Regions from separate parts of the Homo sapiens genome. Here region 2 is linked to region 1. Evidence: promoter capture Hi-C in 16 types of primary human blood cells and fetal thymus (Javierre and others, 2016). All regions are on one chromosome and are shown on one strand. Each heading gives the region's core, a stretch centred on a gene start or on the middle of the fragment in contact. The rest is flanking DNA. Distances are from core to core; before and after follow the strand shown.

Region 1 (6,885 bases), core at 1,710-4,209:
CTAGTGGTCACCACAACGTAGAGGCCTACCTGAAACGCAAGGTTTGGCAATCTCAAAAAGTACTGTCCCTGTCTCCAAATCTCGAATTTTGAAGCGGGTGAAATCAATACTGTAGATGTTGTCTTCGGGTTTACATAAATAATCTGAAAACAAGAGAGAGAAACCAACACTGTTAAATAATCCTCCAAAACTACCATTTATTTAATTCTCAAGTTTTGAAGCAAACTCAGATTTTTTCTTACACAACACACTTAAAATACTCCCAAAAACTTTCTCATGTGTTATCACCAGCAGAAGTTGTATGGACAGAATTAGGGGATCCAACAAAGAAAAAAAATAACAAGGACTTGCTTTGGATGAAAAATTGCAAAACTTTTAGAAACTAGGATAGAAAAGGTGGATTTCTTTGGAAACACATAAAAATCTTTCATCATCTATCAAGTTGGATGTCAGAACAGGGCGAACTTTTTATAGAATTCCAATCTAAGACATTTAAACTGACTTAGCAGATAATACAGTGCTAGTTTGCCAACGTTAGTTTGCCAACTGTCAGTGTAAGAAAGCCGAGATCAGCAAACTTTTCTGTAGAGCCAGATTCTAAATAATTTAGGCTTTGCCGCCACATGGTCTCTGTCACAACTACTCAACTCTATCATTGTAGCCACAAAAGCATCCACAGACAATACGCAAATGAATGAATGTGGCTATATTCCAGTAAAACTGTATTTATGGACACTGAAATATGAATTTTACATAACCACGTGTCTCAAGATTTTAAAGTTTTTTTCAACCATTTAAAAATGTACAAACCTAATCTTAGTTTGTGGGCTACACAAAATCATACAGTAGACAATACATATCATACATATCCAGGCAAGAGGATAAATCTGCCGGTGAAGACATTAGGCCCAAGTGACTAGAACATGAGCCGCAAATTGAAATAATTCTAATCACAGCAAATTTCACTGATTTCTTTCTAGGATGATTCCGGATAGCATCTTCTCCACAGCTCATTTTGATACTTGATCTTTTATTGCCTGAGTTAGTTGTTTTCGTGTTTTACAAGTTGTCTCTTTATTAAGACGACAAACTTGACAACTACTGATTATTCTGTAACTGCTAAAAAGGCTAACATTGGCTTTGGACTCTTAGAGGGTACTCAAATAATCTGCTGGATAGAATGAACGAGACGTTAAGAAGAGTAACAAAGAGGTTGCCAGACTCTAAGAAGCTGCAGAGGTGGGTTTGGACAATGAGCAACAATCCCAAGCCCCCAGATAGGATCTGAGTGCCCACTGAGAATCCTGCTTAGGGCCAGGCACAGAATACCCTAACTCACTTGGATGGCAGGAGAGGGCATGAGGTTACCAAGACCAGGTGCTGAGCATCTGTACTTTCAGAGCCCCAAATGAAAACTGGTTCAGAAGAAAAGAAGCTTTTTCACACTGTTTCAATAAAACTAACAAGAATGTCTAAAGATACGTTCAGGTCTGGTAAGGACAGTCTCAACCCAAACAGTATTGGGAAACGGGGGCATCCAAATATCTAGAATCAAATTAAAACTCTTTTAGGAAATGGGAATTCCCTTTCGCACAGGGTGGACCAAGGCCTACTCCCCCCAAATTTCCATCCCCAAATTACTAGAGCTGCAATCGGCAACCTGAGGTGCACCTGAACAGCCCTGGGCTGCCTGCTATAGCAGCTCAGCAGACACCATGGCAGCCTTCGATCCATCCAGGGAATGTTGCTGCTGCCACAGGGTTAGGAGACTGCACGCCAGGAGTGATGGGCAGGCCAAGATAGGCCTAACTAGGTGAGTGCACACTCCTGCAGGGAAAACAGCAGCAAGAGAAAAGACGTCAAGTCAGGGACTGGCTTGGCAGAGAACAGAAAAAGGGAGATCACCCAGGGCAGGGACTGGGCAACATTTTTCTTCCCACCCATCCTCCTATCAACGAAAAAGCTTAGGATGGTTGCCTTTTGTGCAGGAAACGCATTTCTGAAACTCTGAAATCATTCTTAATTCACGAGAATGTCAAAAGCAGGATTCACATGTCGGAGTCTGTACACAAACTGAAACTTTATTTTTGTTTTAATGTGGCACAGTTTTAAATGAGCAGGAAATGCCACGGCTATGTGTTTTGAGGAAGAACCCATCTGCACACTAAGGGGCAACGCTCCCGACCCAAAGAGGGAGGGAGGCCGGGCAGGCTGCAATGGGGGAGGGCTGCCATGGGGCCAGGGCGGAGGAAGCAGGTAAGGCTTCTGGCCTGCCAGAGGGCTGGGGGAGCCTGGCTGAGCGGGAACTTCACTGATGGCCGGGGGTTCCAGGCTGAGGGCCCAGGGGCCCATTTATTAGGGGACCTCGGCCCCCGGCCGGCTCAGGAGGATCCAGTTCAGCTGAACGGGGCCCTCTACCCAAACAGGTCCGGCAGAGCTGGGGAGCCGACCGGCCGAAGGGCATCCTAGCGTGGCCGGACTCACAGGAATGCGGTCCAGCCCAGGAGAGTCCTTCCCCACCAGAGCTACGTGAGCGTGGCGGGAGCAAAGCCCGGCCGGCGGGGCAGCGGGAAGCGCGGCCCGGCCGGCCGAGGGGGTCTGGCGGGGACCCCCGCGCTGGTCAAGTGGCCGGGTCCGCTGAAGGCTCCGGGAGCCGGGGCACGGCGCGAGGGGAGGGCGCGGCCCGCGCGGCACTCACTCTCGGTGACCCGGCTGAGGCGCAGGACGTGCTCGGGCCGGATGGTGTCCAGCGCCAGCAGCTCCTGCTCCGTGACCGCTGCCCCGACGCCGTCGTCGGCCGCGTGGTGGGGCGCCTGCCGCCGCGCCTTCAGGCGGTTCAGGACGCCGCCGCCCGCCTTCTTCTTCTCCTCCTTGCCAGCCACCAGCCCCCCGGGCCCAGCCGCCGACGCCGCGGCCGCAGCCTTCGGGTTAGACCCGCTCATCGCTCCGCCGCCAAGATGGCCGCCGCCTCCACAGCGCGGTAACTATGGAGAGCGGGGGCGGGGCCCGGGGCCCGGCGGGGAAGGGGCGGGGAGGGGGCGGGGCGGGGGCGGGGGCGGGCGCCCGGGGGGCTGTGGAATTCCCTTTCGCACAGGGTGGACCAAGGCCCACTCTCCCCAAACTTCCATCCCCAAATAACTAGAGCTGCCATCAGCAACCTGAGGTGCACATGAGCAGCCCTGGGCTGACTCCTATAGCAATTCAGCGGACGACACCATGGCAGCCTTCGATCCATTCAGGGAATGCTGCTGCTGCCACAGGGTTAGGAGACCGCAGGCCAGGAGTGATGGGCAGGCCAAGATAGGCCTAACTGGGTGACTGCACACTCCTGCGGGGCCCGGGGGGCGGTGCTTCGGCTACTGCCCCAACTTTGGTCCTGCCAGGTGGAGGGCCTAGGGGTGGCTGGAGCTTCAGCAACCCCACTCCCCATCAGACCCCCAAGATCCTCCACGATGTTTAAATACATATCTTACGGTCAAATGAATTTACGTCATATAAACTTTCCTCCTCCTCATCCTCCTCCTGGTCTGAAAGAGCACACAGAATCTTCCGTGCACCATCTCGGCATTCTCAATCCAAGAGTTCTGTCACCAGTCCCAACAGCACAATGGCAACTAATTCCCAGTAATCACACCAAGAAGAAGAATGGCCAGTGTTTACTGCGCACTTGCTATATGGCAGGACACTTGCTATAGGGCAGGCTCCTCACCTCACAACAACCCTGTGAGGTATTACTGTCTCCATTTTACAGATCAGGAAGCTCAAGTTCAGAGAAGTCAGGTAACATGTCCAAAGTCCCTCAAGCAGTAAGAGGAGGGAACAGGGATTTTAATCCAGGTCCATCTGACCCAAGGCCTGTTCTTCAACACTAAGCTATTAGTGGACAATGCATCTTGAGAAAATGTTTATTAATATATTTAGCATAGAAGGTAAGTTAAAGCAGTGTTTGTTTTGCAAAGGCAGTTTCAAGACAAACTTTCCAATGAGATTGCCATCCGTAAGCCCTACTGTGCCAGGCCCTGGGCTAGACATTGGGCTAGGCTACAGGAGATGTAAGAGTGAGGGCAGGGATTGGGTCTGCCTCACCCCTGAATTCCCAGCAGTTCAGCTAATGCCTGACACGTGGTAGGTGCTCAGTAATGATTGAATGAGAGCCTGAACAGTATCCCACTATGGAAGAGCTCCCACTTTTGTTAGAGAAGACTGTAAAGTACACAATTCATTATGTGACCCTTCCTTTTCACAAGGTAGGTTAGTATGAACTGGAAGACAAACTAGATTCACTGACTGCACTAAGAGATGCAGCAAAGGTGCTAGGAGAACACACAGGAGTGGTTTATTCTGACCTGGCTGTAAAAGCTTGAGGGCTTCGGAAGTTTTCAGAGGCAATATCTGCACTGAGCTTTGGAAGTTAGCCATGACCTCACCAATTAGCCAGAAGTGGGTCAACAGGGGGATGTGGTCTACCGTCTTCCACCCTGAGGGGCTCCTTCTCTAGGGATTCTAGATCTGCACTGTTCTGTGTTGGAGGCCTGGGCCTGATTGATGCAGTGTGTCTGCTAGGTCTGACATCACCTCTCAGCCAGGCTAGAGTAAAATTGCAACCGTCCCCCAGAGCCTCTTGACGTTCTTGCCAGGCCTTGCTTGCTGAGTCCCTCTCACCAAAGCCACCAAGACAGGCATCTCTTGGTTCCTGGACAAAGTCCAAACCTGACCCCACCCCAGCTGCCCAATTGGGTGGCATAGTGTGTGGCCAAATTCCTACCCAAATGCTGTACTGTCTTTGAGAGATTAGTATATGGTGGCATTTAACTAACTGTTCAGGGAGATTTTAATAAATGTGTACAAAGAATTAAAGTCTTTCCTTTTACAAACAACTCTTTTTAAACCACTCAACAGAGTGGTTACTGAAGAATTTCCAGAACTTTTAATATGCTACTTGATTGTGAATGGCCAAGAGGGTGGTTTAGCATGTGGTCATTTCCCATATACTTATTTACGGAAGGTTTGTTCTCATAGCACCAAGACTAGTTACCTGGACCATGGCTTTTCTCTTTCTAGGGATGATGGCAAATGTAACCTCTTCACCTGCAATTCCACATCTAGGAATTTACCCTACCTGCATGCACAGAGATTTGTAATATTGACAAATTACAATAAATTACATTTGTATCCATTCACGTTACATAGAGCTGTTTTAAAAAATGAGACATATATATTAGTATGGAAAGATCTCAAACATATATTAAGTAGGGCAAAAAGCAAGGCACAGAGTCATATTTGTGTATTTATTTATTTAAGACAGGGTCTCACTCTTGTCACCCAGGCTGCAGTGCAGTGGCACAATCACAGCTCACTGCATCCAGCCGCGAATCCCATTTATTTAAAATAAAAAGTATATAAATATTTAGATGTGGGCCGAGTGTGGTGGTTCATGCCTGTAATCCCAGCACTTTGGGAGGCCAAGGTGAGCAAATTGCTTGAGCCCAGGAGTTCGAGACCAGCCTGGGAAACATGGCAAAACCCCGTCTCTACTAAAAATACGAAAATTAGCTGGGCGTGGTGGTGCATGCCAGTAGTCCCAGCTACTCAGGAGGCTGAGGTGGGAGAATCACCGGAGCCCAGGAAGCCGAGGCTGTGTGAGCTGAGATCGCACCACTGCACTTTAGCCTGGGCCATGGGCGTGAGACCCTGTCTCAAAAAAAAAAAAAAAAAAAACACAGATAGACATAGACATAAATATAAATATGCATTTGTAACTGTAAAGGAAGAGGTCTGGATATACATTAAAACATTAACTTTGATTACGTCTGGGGAGGAGAGTATCAGAAGAGACTAAAGGAAATATATTCACTTTTGACATTATTTAGAACTACTACTTCTGTACTATTTTATCTCAAGCATATAATCATGGGCTGCTTGTATACTTTTTTAAAAAGAAAATACCGGCCAGGTGCAGTGGCTCACGGCTATAATTCCAGCACTTTGGGAAGCCGAGGCAGGCAGATCACAACGTCAGGAGTTCGAGACCAGCCTGACCAATATGGTGAAACCCCGTCTCTACTAAAACTACAAAAATTAGCCGGGCATGGTGGCACACTCCTTTAGTCCCAGCTACTTGGGAGGCTGAGGCAGGAGAATCGCTTGAACCTGGGAGGTGGAGGTTGCAGTGAGCTGAGATCGCGCCACTGCACTCCAGCCTGGCAACAGAGCAAGACTCTGTCTCAAAAAAAAAAAAAAGAAAAGAAAATACTTTTGGATCTGTGTCTGGAAGGCAAACTCTATGCCAAAGTTGCCTTACAAATCTTTTAAAATTTAAAAGCAACCTCAAACTTAATTTTTTTTTTTTTTTTTCTGACGGGTCTCGCTCTGTCACCCAGGCTGGAGTGCAGTGGCACAATCTCGGCTCACTGCAACCTCTGCCTCCTGGGTTCAAGCGATTCTCCTGCCTCCGCCTCCCAAGTAGCTGAGAACACAGGCACGCGCCACCATGCCCAGCTAATTTTTGTATTTTTAGTAGAGACGGGGTTTCACCACGTTGGACAGGCTGGTCTCGATCTTCTGAACTTGTGATCCACCTGCCTCAGCCTCCCAAAGTGTTGGGATTACATGCGTAAGCCACTGTGCCTGGCCTGTTTTTTTATTTTACTTTATTTTTTATTTTTATTATTCTTTTTTTTGAGACAGAGTCTCATTCTGTCGCCCAGGCTGGAGTACAGTGGCACAATCTTGGCTCACTGCAACCTCCGCCTCCCAGGTTCAAGCGATTCTCCTGCCTCAGCCTCCCAAGTAGCTGGGATTACAGGTGCCCACCACCATACCTAGCTAATTTTTGTATTTTTAGTAGAGATGGGGTTTCACCATGTTGGTCAGGCTGGCCTTGAA
Region 2 (6,026 bases), core at 567-3,066, 260 kb before region 1:
GTTGCCCAGGCTGGTCTCGAACTCCTGGGCTCAAGCAATCCTCTCACCTCAGCCTCCCAAAGTGTTGGGATTACAGGCATGAGCCATCTCACCTGGCCAGTAATGTATTTCACTCCAAGAACAACTCATGAATTAGGAACTGTTATAATCCCCCTTCTGCAGGGGAGGAAAGAGAGGCTCAGAGAGGTTAAATGACTGCTCAGAGTCCCTCAGAGCTGGGCTTTAAGTCCACCTGAGGCAGGCGGACGGGCTGTGCAGGACAAGTTGGCAGCCCCCGCCTTAAGGAGAGTGGTACCCTCTTTCCTCCAGTGCATTTATGTTTTATTTTTATTTTTGAGACAGAGCCTCACTTTGTCACCCAGGCTGGAGTACAGTGGTGCGATCTCAGCTCACTGTAACCTCTGCCTCCTGGGTTCGAGCAATCCTCCTACCTTAGCCTCCTGAGTAGCTGGGACTACAGGCACACACCACCATGCCTGGCTAATTTTTGTATTTTTGGTAGAGACAGGGTTTCACCATGTTTGCCAGGCTGGTCTCAAACTCCTGGCCTCAAAAGATCCACCCACCTCGGCCTCCCAAACTGTTGGGATTATAGGCGTGAGCCACCGTGCCCGGCCAAGTGCATTTTTTTGTAAACCCCCGTGCAAGTTGCTTTGAGGTTGAGCAGCTTACTGCTGGGGACAGCATTCTCAAGTCCAGGCTAAACAGGGAAGATGCTGTGTGCTGTCCCTTTGTGGCTTTGAGGTTCTCCTGCTTATTCTCTTTGCTGCCTGCAGCTGCCTCTTGGTGACTTTCCCTTTCCAGGGAGCCAGAGGAACCAAGGAGTGTTGGCCCTGACTCCTGCCCCCAGCATGTAAACTCATTAACTGCTGGGTCCTCAGGCAGTTAGGTGGCTGAGCATTTGAGTCTGGGACGGCAGGTGGATTTGGTTGGAGAGGGAATGACAGAGATTGGGGAGGAGCCTCCAGAGTCTAAAGAGATAGGTACACAAGCAGAAAGTTCCAGCCCCCAGCCTGCCTTTCCCCCATGCTCAGGGGACAAAGCTGAATTAACTCGAGGTCAGGAATGGCATTTGCATTTGCATTCTTGAGAGTCACTGCAAATAAGAGCTGTAGTCATGGTGAGTGGTTAAGGCAATGGACTAGAGAACCACTGAGAAAAAAAGCGAACAGTGGCTGGGCGCAGTGGCTCATGCCTGTCATCCCAGCACTTTGGGAGACCGAAGTGGGTGGATCACTTGAGGTCAGGAGTTCGAGACCAGCCTGGCCAACATGGTGAAAACCCGTCTCTACTAAAAATACAAAAATTAGCCAGGCTTGTCAGTGGGCACCTATAATCCCAGCTAGTCGGAAGGCTGAGGCAGGAGAATCACTTGAACCCAGAAGGCAGAGGTTGCAGTGAGCTGAGATCATGACACTGCACTCCAGCCTGGGTGACAGAGAGAAACTCCGTCTCAAAAAAAAAAGAAAAAGAAAAAAAAAAAAAGGAACAGCCGGACATGGTAGCTCATACCTGTAATCCCAGCGCTTTGGGAGACCGAGGCAGGTGGATCACCTGAGGTCAGGAGTTCCAGATCAGCCTGGCCAACATGGTAAAACCCCATCTCTACTAAAAATACAAAAATTAGCTGGATGTGGTGGCGCACACCTGTAGTCCCAGATACTCAGGAGGCTGAGGCAGGAGAATAGCTTGAACCCGGGAGGCGGAGGTTGCAGTGAGCAGAGATCACGCCACTGCACTCCAGCCTGGGCGATAGAGTAACAATCCGTCTCAAAAAAATCTGAAAATTAAAAATTAAAAAGTGAACAGTTGTTTAGTAAGTGCAGTAGGTAGGCCAAGATAACTATTAAGTATGTCCTAACAAGGTAGCTGCTTGAAAAAAATAATGCACATAAATTAAAAAAAAAAAAACTATTTTCACTCATTCTTAACTTCTCGTATGGATGTACTAACGGGAGGCCTGTGCCTGTTGGGCTGTCCACAGCTACTCAAACCTTGAGATTAGATTGGACGCTATCTAATCTCATTTCCTGTTACACAATAACTTCTGCATGGCACTTGCTTTTAATCATGACAACTGCCATACACTCAGCTTTACAAAATCATGTCATTGTGGAAAGGAAGTTCCCTCCATCTAACATTCAAATTTAACTATCCTGAGCTGGTAGTTTGCAAGGTGTCCAACAGATGTCACTGTGTTTCCTTCGCAAATTCTCTAAAATAGTCTGCTGTGTCCCGGGGCATAGTAGATATTCAAGAAATGGTGGCTATGAGTTTTATCACAATTCTCTCCTACTGGGTGAGCAGCTGTTTGCAAGACTAAAATTCGGGCGAGGCACAGGCTTCCCCTTGGTCTTAGCAGCTAGCACAAGACGAGTGTCCCTTCAGCCAGTCTCAGAGCTCTTTGGCAATTCAACTGACCCTTGTCCTTCAGTCCAGACAATGCCCCAGGGCCCACCTGCATTCAAACTCGGACTGTTCTCCTTCCCACCCCTATTATCTTTTCAACTTTATGGACAGTACATGCAATTTTCTCATTCATTTTCTCATTTAACATCTAACAGCTTCATGATATCCCCATTTTACAGATAAGGAAACCAAGGCTTTAAGAGGATAGGGACCCTAATCGGCTAAGGCAGAATTAGGATTTGAACCCAGATCCCCATGACGCCAGAATCTAAGCCTTGACCAAATATGTGTTACTATTACTTTTGTTGTTGTTGTTGTTCTGGGTAACTCCAACCCTCTGCTCGTTGGCCTTGTCACCTCAGTGCTGATTTTGCAGATGAAGAGACTAAGGTTCCGAGGTGCTAGAGCACAGTGGTTAGGAACACACACTCTAGAGCCAGAGTGCCTGGGTTTGAGCCTCGTTCTGCCGTTTACTAGCCGTATGGCCTTGGGCAACTTGCTTAACTTCTCTTTGCCTCAGTTCCTCTTCTCTTGGGTTGTTAGGAGAATGAATGAGGTGATATCCACAGTGTCCAACACCCTGCAAGCGGCCAGGTGTGGTGGATCACACCTGCAATCCCAGCACTTTGGGAGGCCGAGGCAGGTGGATCATTTGAGGTCAGGAGTTCGAGACCAGTCTGGCCAACATGGCGAAACCTCATTTCTACTAAAAATACAAAAATTAGCCGGGCGTGGTGGCAAACAACTGTAATCCGAGCTACTAGGGAGGCTGAGGCAGAAGAATCGCTTGAACCCAGGAGACAGAGGTTGCAGTGAGCCAAGATTGCACCACTGCACTCCAGCCTGGGCGACAGAGTGAGACCCTGCCTCAAAAACTAAAAATAAAAAATGAACAGTGTCCAACACCTTGAAAGCATTCCGCATGACTGAACGATCACTGTTACGTGATTACCAACATGACGACCCCACTTCTCTTGGCCAAACTGAGTTCTCTTCTCTTGTAAAAACTTCTGCATATGAAGTCACCCATTCCATTTGACTCTTTAGCCCTCATCCTGGCATTCAAGGGCATGGACGACTCAACCCCACTCTCTAGCCAGCCTGACCTCTCCATTCCCTTCTCTGGCGTAGAGGCCACTCCCACCACCTGCCCTTACCCCCTGCCCACTTTTGTCAGCCTGTACTGTGTTGAAGCTCCCAGGAGAGACAACTGCAGTCATCACTTTCCACTGTGTTCAGTGATGTCAGTTCGGCCCAGCTGGAGGTACTCACATCATGGAAACAGACCATCAGATTTGGTGTGTGTGTGTTTTATTTTGCTTTTTCAGAGAGCCAGCTGTTAAACACTAGCCAACACCCCATTGATGCTGTTCCTTCTACCTGAAACACCTCGCATTGCCGGTGAGCTCTAAAGACAAAAGGACCTGGGTCTGCATTTCCCAAAGGCAAGACTCTGGTATCACCTGCATATTATTTTCCCATATTTGAGCACCACTGCCTTTTGCATTATTTACTTAGCAGTTTTGCTCCTGTCAACTCACTTTTTTAAAACTAAACTTATTTTAAAAAGAAAAGTTTTGGCCGGGAGCGGTGGCTCATGCCTGTAATCCCAGCACTTTGGGAGGCCGAGGTGGGCAGATCACCTGAGGTCGGGAGTTCGAGACCAGCCTGACCAACATGGAGAAACTCCGTCTCTACTAAAAATACAAAATTAGCTGGGCGTGGTGGCGCATGCCTGTAATCCTAGCTACTCGGGAGGCTGTGGCAGGAGAATTGCTTGAACCCAGGAGGCGGGGGTTGCAGTGAGTCGAGATCGCCCCATTGTACTCCAGCCTGGGGAACAAGAACGAAACTCCGTCTCAAAAAAAAAAAAAAAAAAGAAAAAGAAAAGAAAAGCTTTATATAATTTTAATACTCAAAAAAACAGTATCCCGGCCAGGCACAGTGGCTCACACCTGTAATCCCAGCAATTTGGGAGGCCAGGCAGGAGGATCACTTGAGGCTAGGGGTTCAAGACCACTTGAGGCTAGGGCCAACATGGTGAGACCCCGTCTCTACTAAAAATACAAAAATTAGCCAGGCATAGTGGCACGTGCCTGTAATCCCAACTACTCGGGTGGCTGAGGAACAAAAATCACCTGAATCCAGGAGGCGGAGGTTGCTGCGAGCCGAGATCGTGCCACTGCACTTCAGCCTGGGTGACGGAGTGAGACTCTGTCTCAAAAAAAGAAAAAGAAAAAGAGTATCCCTTGCCATAAATAGCAAGCAGTCATTCAGACATGGAAATGAGGCATTCACACTTGTTCTTGTTTCACACTAAGGCCCTAAGCCTAAGGAGGGTTTCTCTATGTTGAAAGGAAATTAGGCAGTGTTCAGAGGGGTGTTAAAGATAGACTAGCAACTAATTGAAACTTTCTCCTCAATGTAAGCACTTTAGAAGGGACTGAAAAGAGAATGTTCTCCCTACATGTACCATATCACCTACAATTACCTCGTGTACCACTATTTTGCAAATAAATGCCAGAGGCAAGAGTACATTTTGATGCTTTAGCCTAGCACTCAAAGCCCTCCTCGATTTGAATCTTTCCAGCCTCATCTTGCACAGCCCCTCCATACCCAGACCTCACCCACTCTATTTGCCATCTCCAGAACATACCCCTAACTTTCTCACCTCTGTGCCTTTGTGCAAGCTGCTCCCTCTACCTGGAAACCTCCATTTGTCAAGCTGCTGCTGTCTTCAAGATCTACCTGGTCAGAATCTCCTGCTGTCCTCTTCTGCCACCCACAGCAATGTGAGCCTTCACTGGCTGGCCTTCCCTACTCACTGGAGCAGAGCTACGGCATCAGAATGCCCTGGAGCAGGGGTTAGAAACACAGATTTCTGAGTCTACACTCGAAGATTTTTTTTTCTTTCTTTCTTTTTTTTTGTTTTCCAATTTTTCTAATTTTAGAGATGGGGTCTCACCACGTTGCCCAGGCTGGTCTCAAGCTCCTGGACTCAGGTCATCCTACCACCTAGGCCTTCTAAAGTGTTAGGATGAGCCCTGAACCTTGTAACATGAACATTTATTAGTTATATCTGGAAAAAAATATAAAGTTATTTTTATTTGGGTGATACTGCCTTCAAAAAACAAAAACAAAAAAAAACAGGAGGCCGAGCACAGTGGCTCATGCCTGTAATCCCAGTGCTTTGGGAGGCTGAGGCAGGCGGATCACTTGAGACCAGGAGTTCAAGACCAGCCTGGCCAACATAGTGAAACCCCGCTTCTATTAAAAATACAAAAATGGGCCAGGCACGGTGGCTCATACCTGTAATCCCAGCACTTTGGGAGGCCGAGGCGAGTGAATCACGAGGTCAAGAGATCAAGACCATCCTGGTAAACATGGAGAAACCCTGTCTCTACTAAAAATACAAAAATTAGCTGGGCACGGTGTCACGTGCCTGTAGTCCCAGCTACTAGAGAAGCTGAGTCAGCGGAATCGCTTGAACCCAGGAGGTAGAGGTTGCAGTGAGCTGAGATTGCACCACTGCACTCCAGCCTGGGCGACAGAGTGAGACTCTGTCTCAAAAAAAAAAAAAAAAAAATTAGCCAAGTGTGGTGGCACATGCCTGTAAT

Evidence for each region. Contacts are between HindIII fragments. The CHiCAGO score rates a contact against its expected background, and 5 or more counts as called.
Region 2: the fragment with the promoter of HNF1A-AS1 here is called in contact with the fragment with the promoter of UNC119B in region 1 in 14 of 17 cell types (M0 macrophages, erythroblasts, activated CD4 T cells and 11 more); the score reaches 18.4 in M0 macrophages.

Annotation. Positions count from the first base shown.
Region 1 is chr12:120,706,532-120,713,416 of GRCh38, reverse strand. UNC119B (unc-119 lipid binding chaperone B) reads right to left here and starts at 2,959. Exons shown (of 5, transcript NM_001080533.3): 1 at 2,699-2,959; 2 at 30-143. The coding sequence starts at 2,942. It overlaps LOC124903036 (a long non-coding RNA gene), which reads left to right and starts at 2,911. Exons shown (of 2, transcript XR_007063491.1): 1 at 2,911-2,980; 2 at 3,143-3,484. RefSeq lists silencers at 2,650-2,919, 3,010-3,069 and an enhancer at 2,200-3,042. The HindIII fragment of the contact is 2,396 bases long and covers 1,966-4,361 here.
Region 2 is chr12:120,968,082-120,974,107 of GRCh38, reverse strand. It overlaps HNF1A-AS1 (HNF1A antisense RNA 1), which reads left to right and starts at 1,816. Exons shown (of 1, transcript NR_024345.1): 1 at 1,816-4,270. RefSeq lists an enhancer at 696-1,223. The HindIII fragment of the contact is 11,110 bases long and covers 1-4,307 here.